Linked DNA regions of Homo sapiens: all the other regions are linked to region 2. Evidence: promoter capture Hi-C in 16 types of primary human blood cells and fetal thymus (Javierre and others, 2016). All regions are on one chromosome and are shown on one strand. Each heading gives the region's core, a stretch centred on a gene start or on the middle of the fragment in contact. The rest is flanking DNA. Distances are from core to core; before and after follow the strand shown. Region 1 overlaps RPRD2 (regulation of nuclear pre-mRNA domain containing 2). Region 2 holds the start of HORMAD1 (HORMA domain containing 1). Region 3 overlaps RPRD2 (regulation of nuclear pre-mRNA domain containing 2). Region 4 overlaps RPRD2 (regulation of nuclear pre-mRNA domain containing 2).

The links. The method cuts DNA at HindIII sites, captures the fragments that hold promoters and counts their contacts. A CHiCAGO score of 5 or more calls a contact.
Region 1: a fragment that was not itself captured here is called in contact with the fragment with the promoter of HORMAD1 in region 2 in 4 of 17 cell types (monocytes, neutrophils, erythroblasts and 1 more); the score reaches 6.8 in monocytes.
Region 3: a contact is called between a fragment that was not itself captured here and the fragment with the promoter of HORMAD1 in region 2, in 1 of 17 cell types (monocytes). The highest score is 5.1, in monocytes.
Region 4: a fragment that was not itself captured here is called in contact with the fragment with the promoter of HORMAD1 in region 2 in 1 of 17 cell types (neutrophils); the score reaches 7.0 in neutrophils.

The regions. Positions count from the first base shown.
Region 1 is chr1:150,435,834-150,439,464 of GRCh38, forward strand. The region is part of intron 2 of RPRD2 (regulation of nuclear pre-mRNA domain containing 2); the gene reads left to right. Among named protein-coding and RNA genes, the nearest start is that of TARS2, 50 kb to the right of the region's middle. The HindIII fragment of the contact is 5,634 bases long and covers 1-3,631 here.
Region 2 is chr1:150,719,642-150,723,096 of GRCh38, forward strand. HORMAD1 (HORMA domain containing 1) reads right to left here and starts at 1,254. Exons shown (of 15, transcript NM_032132.5): 1 at 1,163-1,254. The HindIII fragment of the contact is 2,080 bases long and covers 1-1,994 here.
Region 3 is chr1:150,375,293-150,378,701 of GRCh38, forward strand. All of the region lies in intron 1 of RPRD2 (regulation of nuclear pre-mRNA domain containing 2), which reads left to right. Among named protein-coding and RNA genes, the nearest start is that of RPRD2, 13 kb to the left of the region's middle. The HindIII fragment of the contact is 1,920 bases long and covers 783-2,702 here.
Region 4 is chr1:150,459,443-150,462,793 of GRCh38, forward strand. RPRD2 (regulation of nuclear pre-mRNA domain containing 2) reads left to right here. Exons shown (of 11, transcript NM_015203.5): 9 at 618-875. Among named protein-coding and RNA genes, the nearest start is that of TARS2, 26 kb to the right of the region's middle. The HindIII fragment of the contact is 5,293 bases long and covers 1-3,351 here.

The DNA.
Region 1 (3,631 bases), core at 1,116-3,615, 280 kb before region 2:
CAGCCTTCTGTTGGAAGATGCCATGTAGGACTCTCATAGCTAGAAGGAAGTCAGTCCTTGCTTCAAAGCACAGGCTGACTCTCTTGTTAGGAGCTAATACAGCTGTCTGGCAACTTTGAGTTGAAGCCACTGTTCATATACAATTCTGAAAATCCTAGGGCTGTTAAAAATTATGCTAAATCTATTCTGTCTGTGCTCTGTAGATGGAACAGCAAAGCCCAGGTGACAGCACATCTGTTTACAGTGTGGTTTGCTGAATATTTCAAGCCCAATGTTGAGACCTGCTCTTGTTCAGGGAAAAAAAAAAAAAAACACAGATTCTTTACAAAATATTACTGTTCATTGACAATGCACCCAGTCACCCAAGAGCTCTGATGTATAAGGAGATTGATGTTATTTTCTTGCTTGCTAACACAACATTTATTCTGCCCATGGTTAAAGGAGTAATTTGACCTTTCAATTCTTGTTGTTTAAGAAATACAAACCGGCCGGGCATGGTGGCTCATGCCTGTAATCCCAGCACTTTGGGAGGCCGAGGCAGGCAGATCACGAGGTCGGGAGATCGAGACCATCCTGGCTAACACCGTGAAACCCCGTCTCTACTAAAAATACAAAAAATTAGCTGGGCGTGGTGGCAGGCGTCTGTAGTCCCAGCTACTCCGGAGGCTGAGGCAGGAGAATGGGGTGAACCCTGGAGGTGGAGCTTGCAGTGAGCCAAGATCGCCACTGCACTCCAGCCTGGGCAACAGAGCAAGACTCCGTCTCAATTAAAAAAAAAGAAATACAGGGCTGGGCATGGTGGCTCACACCTGTAATCCCAGCACTTTGGGAGGCCAAGGCTAGTGGATGGATCACTTGAGGTCAGGAGTTCAAGACCAGCCTGGCCAACATGGTGAAACCCCGTCTCTACTAAAAATAAAAATTAGCCAGGCATGGTGGCACACGCCTGTAATACCAGCCACTCAGGAAGCCGAGGCAGGACAATTGCTTGAACCCAGGAGGCAGAGGTCGCAGTGAGCTGAGATCGCGCCATTGCACTCCAGCCTGGGCAACGAGCAAAACTCCGTCTCAAATAAAAAGAAAAAATACAGGCTGGGCACGGTGGCACACGCCTGTTATCCCAGCACTTTGGAAGTCCGAGATGGGAAGATCTCTAGAGCTCAGGAGTTTGAGATCAGCCTGGGCAACATTGCGAGACGTAGTCTCTATTATTAAAAAAAGAAAGAAAGACATTTTGTAAGGCTATAGTTGCCGCTAATAATGATTCCTTTTATGGATCTGGGCAAAGGAAATTGAAAACCTTCTGGAAAGGATTCACCATTCTAGATGGCATGAAGAACATTTGTGATTCATAGGGAGAGGTCAAAATATCAACATTAAGGCCAGGCATGGTGGCTTTTAACACCTGTAATCCCAACACTTTGGAGGCCAAGGCAGGCAGATCACGAGGTCAAGAGATCGAGACCATCCTGGCCAACATGGTGAAACCTTGTCTCTACTAAAAATACAAATATTAGCTGGGTGTGGTGGTGCATGCCTGCAGTCCCAGCTACCATGATCAGTCATCATCAAGGCAAGACCCTCCACCAGCAAAAAGAATATGATTTGCTGGAGACTCAGATGATTGTTAAGAGTTTTTTAGCTATAAAGTATTTTTTTAACTAACATATGGATATTGTTTTTAATACATAATGCTATTGCACACTTAATTGACTATAGTATAGTGTAAATGTAACTTTTTAAAAATTTATTGGTTTGTTTTTAGAGACAGAGTCTTACTCTGTCACTCAAGCTGGAGTGCAGTGGTGTTGTCAGGGCTCACTGCAGACTCGAACCCCTGGTCTCAACCGATTCCCCCACCTCAGCCCTCCAAGTGGCTGGGACTACAGGTGTGCCCCACCACATCTGGCAAGTTTTTGTATTTTTTGCAGAGATGGGGTTTCGCCACGTTGCCCAGGCTGGTCTCAAACTCCTGGGCTCAGGTGATCCGCCAGCTTCAGCCTTCCAAAGTGCTAGAACTGCAGGCGTGAGCCACCGTGCCCAGCCTAAACTTTACAATTTTCTAGAGGTTTATTAACCAGAAAGAACAGACTCTGTTGTCACTTCTTATATTTTTTATGCTGAGATTCTTTCTGTCATTATTTAAAAAAAAAAAAAAAAAAAAGTTGAGCCAGGAACCGTGGCTCACGCCTGTAACCCCAGCACTTTGGGAGGCCGAGGCAGGCAGATCATGAGGTCAGGAGTTTGAGACCAGCCTGGCCAATACGGTGAAACCCCATCTCAACTAAAAAAATATATATACAAAAATTAGCCGGGCATGGTGTCACTGGCCTGTAGTCCCAGCCACTTGGGAAGCTGAGGCAGAAGAATCGCTTGAACTTGGGAGGCGGAGGTTGCAGTGAGCGGAGGTGGTGCCACTGCACTCCGGCCTGGGCGACAGAGCAAGACTCATCTCAAGAAAAGAAAAGAAAAAAAGTCATGCGTTGCTTAACATCAAGAATATGTTCTGAGGCCAGGTGCGGTGGCTCACACCTGTAATCCCAGCACTTTGGGAGGCCAAGGCGGGCAGATCACTTGAGGTCGGGAGTTCAAGACCAGCCTAACCAACATGGTGAAACCCCGTCCCTACTAAAAAAAAATACAAAATTAGCTGGGCGTGGTGGCAGGCGCCTATAATCCCAGCTACCCCGGAGGCGGAGGCAGGAAAATCGTTTGAACCCAGGAGGCGGAAGTTGCAGTGAGCCGAGATCGCACCATTGCACTCCAGCCTGGGTGACAGAGCAAGACTCTGTCTTCAAAAAAAAAAGAGTATGTTCTGAAAAATGTGTCATTAGGGAATTTTATCCTTTGAACATCCTAGAGTGTACTTAAATAAACGTAGATGGCATAGCCTACTAAAAACCGAAGCTATGTTGTGTAGCCTATTGCTCTTTGGCTGTAAACCTGCACTGCATGTCACTGTATTGAATACTATAGGCAGCTGTAACAATGGTAAGTACATATCTAAACTTTTTTTTTTTTAAACGGAGTCTCACTCTGTCTCCAGGCTGGAGTGCAATGGCGCAATCTCAGCTCACTGCAACCTTCGACTCCTTGGTTCAAGCAATTCTCCTGCCTCAGCGTCCCGAGTAGCTGGGATTACAGGCATGTGCCACCGCACCCAGCTAATTTTTGTATTTTTAGTAGAGACGGGGTTTCACCATGTTGGCCAGGATGGTCTCGATCTCTTGACCTTGTGATCCGCCTCCCTCGGCCTCCCAAAGTGCTGCGATTACAGGCATGAGCCACCACACCCGGCCGTATCTAAACATTATAGAACACAGAAAATTGTGAAAAGTATAAAGAAAAATCCACTCACTTTCACCAAATGGAGATTTACAAGATAACAATTTCAGCATTACTATCTTACAGTCTTTTTCTTCTATAAATGTTAGTATTGTATTTGAAACCAGTCACACACATAGTCAGGCATACCTTAGAGATATTGAGATTTCAGTTCCAAACCACCACAATAAAGCAAATATTGCAATAAAGCATGTCACACGCAGGTGGATCGCTTGAGCCCAGGAGGCTGAGGCTGCGGCTGCAGTGAGCCAAGATCATGCCACCATAGTTCAGCCTCGACAACTGA
Region 2 (3,455 bases), core at 4-2,503:
AATTTCTTTAATTAAAATAGAGTCTTCAAAAACGTAGAGGTCGATATTGCAGTAGAACCATTTTGAGTAGGGTCCTGATTTGAAGCCATTTGACTAGCAAGTCTCAAACAAATGGGTTATTAAGAAACTGTTTAAGAGAACTTTTTAAAAAGGCACAATCTTCCTATTTTTATTCCCTATACAAATTCAAACAATGACAACATTGTACAGGTAGGTATTCAGTAATGAAAAATTGCCTGGCAAACCCTCTAAACTTTTTCAGTTTTATTTGTTTTTATTTTTCATTTTTTTGAGACGGAGTTTCGCTCTGTCGCCAGGCTGGAGTGCAGTGGCGCGATCTCAGCTCACTGCAAGCTCCGCCTCCCGGGTTCAAGCGATTCTCCTGCCTCAGCCTCCCGAGTAGCTGGGACCACAGGTGCCCACCATATATATATATACAATTTTTTTTTTCGAGACGGTGTCTCTCTCTGTTGCCCAGGCTGGAGTGTAATGGCGCGATCTCGGCTCACCGCAACCTCCCCCTCTGGGTTCAAGTGATTCTCCTGCCTGAGCCTCCTGAGTAGCTGGGACTCCAGGCGTGCCACCACGCCCAGCTAATTTTTGTATTTCTAGTAGACACGGGGTTTCACCATGTTGGCCAGGAAACTCCTGACCTCGTGATCCGCCCGCCTCGGCCCCCAAGGTGTTGGGATTATAGGCGTGAAGCACCGTGCCCGGCCGCTAATTTTTTTTTCTATTTTTAGTGGAGACGGGGTTTCGCCATGTTGGTCAGGCTGGTCTCAAATGATCCTCCGGCCTCAGCCGCCCAACTTGCTGGGATTACAGGAAGTTGTGTGTCCGGAACCACTGTGTCCGGCCCCAGTTTCACTTTTCTTAATCAGACAATTCAGCTGGAAGAGTTTACTAAAGAGGCAAACTTCATAGAAGAACCTATTTACGTTAAACGTTTAAATTTATCCTGACAAATCCTGAATTCGCCGTCCGTACTCACCCCATCTCAAGAACCTCTGTTGACAAGTAAGTGGGTATACATTTTTACCGCAAATGTTTTACCACTAAGACCTTAAGAAACTTAAAAGTAGGGGGAAGCTGACAGACAAAGAGATTAAAAAGTAAAATATACGCACACACACACAGATATATACACACTAATATATATTACATTACGTCTGAGGGGCGGGCGCCGGAGACCAGAAGAGCTGCACGAGGCTGCACGCGCTGTGCCCGACGCGCATGCGCTTTCCTTCAACGGTCACCCGCTGGGGCGCGACAGTGGCTTTTTGACCCCTGGTCGAGGTCACCTTTCCCGCCAAGCGCAGCGCAAGGCGCACTGGGAGCCTCAGACACGGGAAGCCTCAGCGCCACGTCTCAGGCAGTGGAAAAGCCAGACAGAAGGGGGAAGGTTAAGTAACTGCATGTGCAGTTACTGAATTTCTGATTGTTTTTCTGACTTTTGATTTTCTTTCTTTTTTTTTTTTTTTTTTTTTTGAGACGGAGTTTTGCTCTTGTCGTCCAGGCTGAAGTGCAGTGGCATGATCTTGGCTCACTGCAACCTCTGCCTCCAGGGTTCAAGCAATTCTCCTGCCTCAGCCTCCCAAGTAGCTGGGATTACAGGCGTCCGCCACCATGCCCAGCTAATTTTTGTATTTTTAGTAGAGACGGGGTTTTGCCATGTTGGCCAAGCTGGTCTCAAACTCCCGACCTCAGGTGACCTGCCTCCCTCGGCCTCCCAAAGTGCTGGGATTACAGGCGTGAGCCACCACACCCGGCTGACTTTTGATTTTCTCATTGGAACTACCACAAATTGCATTCCCACCTTCCAATCTCCTGTATCTTCAGGAAACCATTTGCTTTAGCAGTCTTCTACTTAGCCACTTCCACTGTGTTATGTCATTGGGGACAATGGATAGCTTTGAATGTAATTTGTCTCATTTAGAAACAAAATAAAATCAGAGTGGGTAGGTATTAATAGTTGGAGATTATTCAGTAGTACAAGCTTCTTAGTTTACAGATTATTATATATCCAAATACATTTCTTACCAGTGTAAACATTCAATTACAGGCATACCTTGGAGATATTGCAAGTTCAGTTCCAGACCCTCCAATAAAGCAAACAACATAATAAAGCAAATTACACAATTTTTTAGTTTTCCATGTGTATAAAAGTTATGTTGGCTAGATGTGGTGGCTCATGCCAATAATCCCAGCACTTTGGGAGGCTGAGGCGGAACAATTGCTTGAGGCCAGAAATTGGGGATCAGCTTGGGCAACAAAGTGAGACCCTGTCTCTACAAAAAATAAAAAAAATTAGGCAGAGGTTGTGGCACACACCTGTAGTCTCAGCTACTCAGGAGGCTTAGGCAGGAGGATCCCTTGAGCCCAGGAGTTTGCAGTGGCAGTGAGCCCTGTTTGAGCCACTGCACTCCTGCCTAGGCGGCAGTGAGACTTGTTTCAAAAAAAAAAAATTATGGTTACACTATTAATATCTTAATATATATATATAAATTTTTTTTTTTGAGACGGAGTCTTGCTCTGTCTGTCGCCCAGGCTGGAGTGCAGTGGTGCGATCTCGGCTCACTGCAAGCTCCACCTCCTGGGTTCACACCATTCTCCTGCCTCAGCCTCCCAAGTAGCTGGGACTACAGGCGCCCGCCACCACACCCGGCTAATTTTTTTGTATTTTTAGTAGAGACAGGGTTTCACCGTGTTAGCCAGGATGGTCTTGATCTCCTGACCTCGTGATCTGCCCGCCTTGGCCTCCCAAAGTGCTGGGATTACAGGCATGAGCCACTGCGCCCAGCCCTTAATATATTTATTGTACATATCTTATGCTTTCTGTAGTCTGTTAAGTGTGCAGGAGCATAATGTCTAGAAACACAATGCACATACTTTAATTTTAAAATACTTTATTCCTAAAAAATGCTAATGATCATCTGAACAATCATCTTTTTGCCGGTGGAGGGCCTTGCCTTGATGTTAATGGCTGCTGACTGATCAGGGAGGTGTTTGCTGCATGTTGGGGTGTCTGTGGCAATTTCTTAAATTAGGACAACAATGACATTCACCACATCGATTGACTCTTCCTTTTATAAAAGATTTCTCTGTAGCATGTGATGCTGTTTTACAGCATTTTACCCACAGTAGAAATTCCTTCAGAATTGGAGTCAGTCCTTTCAAACCCTGCTGCTACTTTGTCAACTAAGTTTATGTAACATTCTAAATCCTTTGTTACCATTTCAATCTTGTTCTCAGCATCTTCACCAGGAGTAGATTCCATCGATTCCATCTCAATAAATCACTTTCCTCAATCATCCATAAGAAGCAATTCCAGCACTTTGGGAGGCTGAGGCGGGTGGATCACGAAGTCAGGAGTTTGAGACTAGCCTGGCCAATATGGTGAAACCCTGTCTCTACTAAAAATACAAAAATTAGCCAGGCATGATAGCACGCCTGTA
Region 3 (3,409 bases), core at 493-2,992, 340 kb before region 2:
ATAGTAAGCTAAAGAGTAAATTTTGTAGCAAATAAACATTCCCATAACTAAAAGTGTGAAACACTACTGACAAACTTCACATGGTTCTGTGACATGGAGGTATCTTGAAAGGAAAATTACAATAGCAGTGGAAAAACACTAATATTAAAATTTGCTCACAGAGGCCACCCAGAATTACTTTAATGTTAGTTTTGTCTGTAGAGGAGGGACGAGTGTATGTATGTGCGTAATTTTTTAGGGAGTAGAAGCTTACTGATTTTATTCTTTTTTGTTGTTATCAGCTTCCTTGGGTTGAATGATTTTACTCTTAATGATTTGGCTTCCTGCCTTTCTTAAACTAATAAATAATAGTTGCATCAAAATTCTTTCTTCCTCCTAGGCTTTTGTCAGTTATGTTCTCTTTTTTCCTCCCACTTTTTCCAGGTGTTTATTGTTTTACAGCAGTACTTTTAAAAGTCAAAAGGGGAGATTTTGGTCAGTTGTTTTAAAATTTCAATTGAGAATTAAGGATACATGAGGTTTAATTTGTTGAAGGAACTCAGAGACCCTAATAAAAATTACCCAAGAACAGAACAATTTACAAACCAGCTTGACTGACTTTCTCATCTATTTGTCAAGGAAACAAAAAGTAGTTGTGTTTCGTAGTGATTTCAAATTCCACTGCCCCCACAGATATTAATTATAGAACACTGGAGGAATGTACATCTTAGGGAGAAAGTAGTAGAACCTAGTTATTCCTTTTGAGAAAAGGCAACAATTCCATCTGTGCTTTGAAATATTAAAGCTTTTCTGGCTAAGATAAAGATAGTTTTTAAAAATGCTTCATTCTTATTCTCTTGTTTTTAGAGAAATATTGAAATAGAGGCTCTTTGATGAAGGAAATGAAAATGTTTGGTTTGCTGGGTTTAAATTTTACTAGTGTTTGATTGAGGCCTTGATCTCTCCCTCATCTCTCTTTCTTCACTTCTTTCTCTTATAATTAATTTCACTTACTTGCACTTTCTAGTTCTCTGGAATCCATTAGCAGAGAGAGAGAGTGATTCTTTATTACCCTTTAGTAAAAGTTGCACTGTGAAAGGAAAAAAGGATCTTTTAATGTTTGGGATTATAACTTAACATTTTTTGTTTTAAAAAACCTAGAATGGATCCTGAGCTGTTTTTGTGTTCCTTTACTGTCATCATAGTTTTAGAGTGTAGCATGATACAGTCTTTTTTTTTTTTTGAGACGGAATCTTGCTCTGTTTGTTGCCCAGGCTGGAGTGCAGTGGCGCCATCTCGGCTCACTGCAAGCTCCGCCTCCCGGGTTCACGCCATTCTCTCGCCTCAGCCTCCTGAGTAGCTGGGACTACAGGCGCCCGCCACCACGCCCGGCTGATTTTTTGTATTTTTAGTAGAGAAGGGGTTTCACCGTGTTAGCCAGGATGGTCTCGATCTCCTGACCTCGTGATCCGCCCGCCTTGGCCTCCCAAAGTGCTGGGATTACAGGCGTGAGCCACCGCGCCCGGCCGATACAGTCTTTTAAAATGATGATCTTTGTGTCTAGGAGGCAGTATTACTTGAAAGATTAAAATTCTCTTATAATATGTTATGCCTAAAGATACAGAATGAGAAAATGAACTTAGAAATACTGAGTGCTGGCCGGGCGCTGTGGCTCACGCCTGTAATCCCAGCACTTTGGGAGGCCAAGGTGGGGAGATCACCTGAGGTCAGGAGTTTGAGACCAGCCTGGCCAACATGGTGAAACCTTGTCTCTACTAAAAATACAAAAATTAGCTGAGCGTGGTGGCATGTGCCTGTAGTCTCAGCTACTCGGGAGGCTGAGGCAGGAGAATTGCTTGAACCCAGGAGGCAGCAGTTGCAGTGAGCTGAGATTACGCCACTACACTCCAGCCTGGTGACAGAGCGAGACTATCTCCAGAAAAAAAAAGAAAAAAAGAAAGGAAATATTGAGTACTTCCTCTATGTAAACCCCTGTATTGGGTGCTGAAAGAGATGGAATTATAAGGAACTTAACATTTAGTAAATGGGCCGGGCGCGGTGGCTCACGCCTGTAATCCCAGTACTTTGGGAGGCCGAGGCGGGCGGATCACGAGGTCAGGAGATTGAGACCATCCTGGCTGACGGTGAAACCCCGTCTCTACTAAAAATACAAAAAATTAGCCAGGCGTGGTGGCGGGCGCCTGTAGTCCCAGCTACTCGGGAGGCTGAGGCAGGAGGATGGTGTGAACCTGGGAGACAGAGCTGGCAGTGAGCCGAGATCGTACCACTGCACTCTAGCCTGGGCGACAGAGCAAGACTGCGTCTCAAAAAAAAAAAAAAAACATTTAGTAAGTAAGATAGGAATTGAACACATATAACTGGTTCTGGGAAGTATAATAATATGAGTTTTATATGCTCTAACAGTTTAGAATAGGTATCACTTTGGTTGGATTGCTGGATCCTTATTGTTTACTGAGGATCCTTACTAGCTATCATACATGTATTACCTATAATCTTGATGTCAGCTCTGCAAAATATGAATTTGTAAATTTATAAAAAATATGAATTTATAAAATATAGATGTGTAACAGTTGAATTTATAAATTTATTAAAAATTTATAAATTGAGTCTCAGAGAAGTAAATTGATTATTTTGGGGAAATTGTCAGAACATTTATAGTGTAGGAAAAGGAAACGTGCCTGGTTTCAGAGTGGCTAAGCATAAGCTTAATTTTGTTTTATATAAGCAGAAGTCACGTGAAGGTAAGTGGGAGAAAGAAAAGAAATACGGTGGATTCAAAGCCCAAGTTGCTTACAAGTATGTTGTTATTACTTAATAATCTTATATTTCCAGTCATTAATGTAGTTAATTTTACAAACATAACACTAATAGTTTAGTAAGAAAATAACATTTACTGAGTTCTTATGTGATTTCATTTAATATAACAATTCATTAGTTAATGTATTATTACTGAGTAAATCTATTAGTGATGTATATGTAAATTACACTGGTGACAGGTAAAATAATAAACCCTATAAATGACAATAAATTAAGTACTTGAGGGCTCAGTGAGGTTAAAATAACTTGTTCAAGGTACACAACTAATGAACAATAGAGCCAGGTTGCAAACTTAAGCAGTCTTGACTCCAAGGCCTACACTTTACCATTATGGTAGACGGCTTCCTGCTTCTTTCAGAGTATATTGGTATTTTATAGTGTTCCATGGACAGTGTGGTATATACAGGATAAAAGTTCCCAAACAGCCTTGCACCTGCCCATTCTCATATAGAAGCAAGTAGAAGAACACACTTCTCTCCTTTTAAGCCAGACCATTAAACAGATTTGCAAAAATGAAAAACAATTTGCTCCCACTAAATTTTTGTTTTACAAAATATAGTTATTTTTAATTAAGAAATAATTTATTGGCTAG
Region 4 (3,351 bases), core at 81-2,580, 260 kb before region 2:
TGAAAAATATCATTTCCAAAAGACAGAACACAAATGTGTACCAAATAATAACATGCTTCTTGAATTGTACAGATTTAATACACAAATACTAAGAAAATGCAAAGGAATCATTGAAAAGTAAGATACAAGATAAATTCTGGAAATTGCTTGCTTTTTTTTTTTTTTTTGAGACGGGAGTCTCGCTTTGTTGCCCAGGCTGGAATGCAGTGGCACAATCTCGGCTCATTGCAACCTCTGCCTCCTGGGTTCAAGCGATTCTCGTGTCTCAGCCTCTGTAGTAGCTGGGATTATAGACGCCTGCCACCACACCTAGCTAATTTTTTGTATTTTTTGTGGAGGCAGGATTTCACCATGTTGACCAGGCTGGTCTCGAAATCCTGACCTCACATGAGCCATTGTCCCCAGCTGGAAATTGCTTTTAAGCAGATATTAAAGGTGGGAATTATCATAAATTATGAAGAGTATGACTTTTTCAAAAAAGCATGAAGTGAGTCGTTGTTTTCTCTAAAGTAGTGCCTTTTCCCCCAAGTCCGGAAATATTAGGACATGTTATTTCATATAGGAAGCAAAGTCTGGAAAGTAGTAGGATGTAATATCTCTTTTCTTTGTTGAAACAGTCGAGGACAGGAAGGAAAAACCTGCAGAGAAGTCAGCTGTATCCACTTCTGTACCTACAAAGCCAACAGAAAATATCTCAAAGGCCTCTTCATGTACCCCAGTGCCTGTGACCATGACAGCAACTCCACCTCTTCCAAAGCCTGTGAATACTTCTCTTTCCCCTTCCCCAGCATTGGCTTTGCCAAACCTGGCTAATGTGGATCTGGCAAAGATCAGTTCCATCCTTAGCAGTTTAACATCAGTCATGAAAAATACTGGTAAGTAAGCCCAGTAAGGAGGATAAAAAGTTAATTTCCATCTTTTTAAATTGAATCATTAATCTGTTTTTGGGGGGGTTGTTGTTGTTGTTGTTGTTGTTGTTTAGACAGAGTTTCGCTCTGTCTCCCAGGCAGGAGTGCAGTGGTGCAATCTTGGCTCACTGCAACCTCTGCCTCCCGGGTTCAAGTGTTCTGCTGCTTCAGCCTCCCAAGTAGCTGGGATTACAGGCACCTGCTACCACGCCCGGCTAATTTTTGTATTTTTAGTAGAGATGGGGTTTCACCATGTTGGCCAGGCTGGTCTTGAACTTCTGACCTCAGGTGATACACCCACCTCGGCCTCCCAAAGTGCTGGGATTATAGGCGTGAGTCACCGTGCCCAGTCTGTTGTTGATTTTTTTTAATTAATGATTTTTTTTTTTTTTTCTGAGACGGAGTTTCAGTCATGTTACCTAGGCTGGAGTGCAATGGTGCAAACTTCACTCACTGCAGCCTCCATCTCCCAGGTTCAAGCAATTCTGCCTTAGCCTCCCAAATAGCTGGGACTACAGGCATGTGCCACCATGCCCAGCTAATTTTGTATTTTTGGTAGAGACGGGGTTTCACCATGTTGGTCAGGCTGGTCTCAAACTCCTGACCTCAGGTGATCCACCCATCTTGGCCTCCCAAAGTGCTGGGATTACAGGCGTGAGCCAGCGCACCCAGCTAAATTAATTGTTAAATTAAAAAATAATCCAATAATCGGTCATTATAGAAAAATTAGAAAATAAGCAAAGAGAATGAAATAAATATCTAGGCCAGGCGTGGTGGCTCATGCCTGTAATCCCAGCACTTTGGGAGGCTGAGATGGTAGATTGCCTGAGGCCAGGAGTTCGAGACCAGCCTTGGCAATATAGTGAGACCCTATCTCTAAATAAAAAATTTTAAATGAAAAAAATTTTTTAATAAATATCTATAATCCTGTTACCCCAAAGGAAACCACTTGTGTTTACCCTTAAAAGTATATGTGTATATGAATGTTTTGGAGAATTAAATATGTATAACAATTTTTAAAAAAGTAAGTGTATTGCATATACTGTTTCAAAACTAGCTATTTAAAAGTTAATTACATATCTTGAATGTTTTTATGAATCATTAAATATTTCTCTACATCATTTTTAATAGCTGCATAGCATGTGGTAACTTATCTAATCCTTTATTATTAGGCACTTAGTATGTTTCCAGTTTTTTACTGTTATGAAGAATACTATAGGGCCAGGTGTGGTGGCTCACGCCACCACTTTGGGAGGTGGAGGCAGGTTGATCACTTGAGGCCAGGAGTTGGAGACAAACCTGGACAACATGGCGAAACCCCATCTCTACTTAAAAAAACAAAAATTATGGCCGAGCGTGGTGGCTCACACCTGTAATCCCAGCACTTTGGGAGGCCGAGGCGGGTGGATCACGAGGTCAAGAGATCGAGACCATCCTGGCCAACATGGTAAAACCCCGTCTCTACTAAAAATACAAAAAAATAGCCAGGCATGGTGGCGGGCGCCTGTAGTCCCAGCTGCTCGGGAGGCTAAGGCAGGAGAATGGCCTGAACCCAGGAGGCGGAGCTTGCAGTGAGCCAGGATCGCGCCACTGCACAGCCTGGGCGACAGAGCAATACTCCGTCTCAAAAAAAAACAAAAAACAAAAATTAGGCCAGGTTTGGTGGCTCACGCCTGTATTTCCAGCACTTTGGGAGGCCAAGGCAGGCGGATCACCTGAAGTCAGGAGTTCAAGACCAGCCTGGCCAACTTGGTGAAACCCTGTCTACTAAAAATACAAAAATTAGCTGGGCATGGTGGCATGCATCTGTAGTCCCAGCTACTTGGGAGGCTGAGGCAGGACAATCACTTGAACCTGGGAGGCGGGGGTTGCAGTGAGCCAAGATCACGCCACTGCACTTCAGCCTGGGCAACAGAGCAAGACTCCGTCTCAAAAAAAGAAAAAATTCGCCAGCTGTGGTGGCACGTACCTGTAATCCCAGCTACTCATAAGGCTGAGGCATAAGTATCATTTGAACCCAGAAGGCAGAGGTTGCAGTGATCCAGGATCAAGCCACTGCACTCCAGCCTGGTTGACAGAGCGAGACTCTTGTCTCAAAAAAAAACAAAAAACAAAAAAAAAACCTGTAAATTATAAAAATTTTATGAATAACCCTTTGCAAGGGTTAAGTATATAAAACCTTTTTAATGGAATTTTATTTTTATTTATTTATTTATTTATTTTGAGACAGTCTCACTCTGTCCCCCAGGCTGCTGGAGTGCAGTGGCGCGATCTCAGCTCACTGCAAGCTCCGCCTCCCAGGTCACGCCATTCTCCTGCCTCAGCCTCCTGAGTAGCTGGGACTACAGGTGCCTGCCACCACGCCCAGCTAATTTTTTGTATTTTTGGTAGAGACGGGCTTTTACCATGTTAGCCAGGATGGTCTCGATCTCCTGACCTCGTG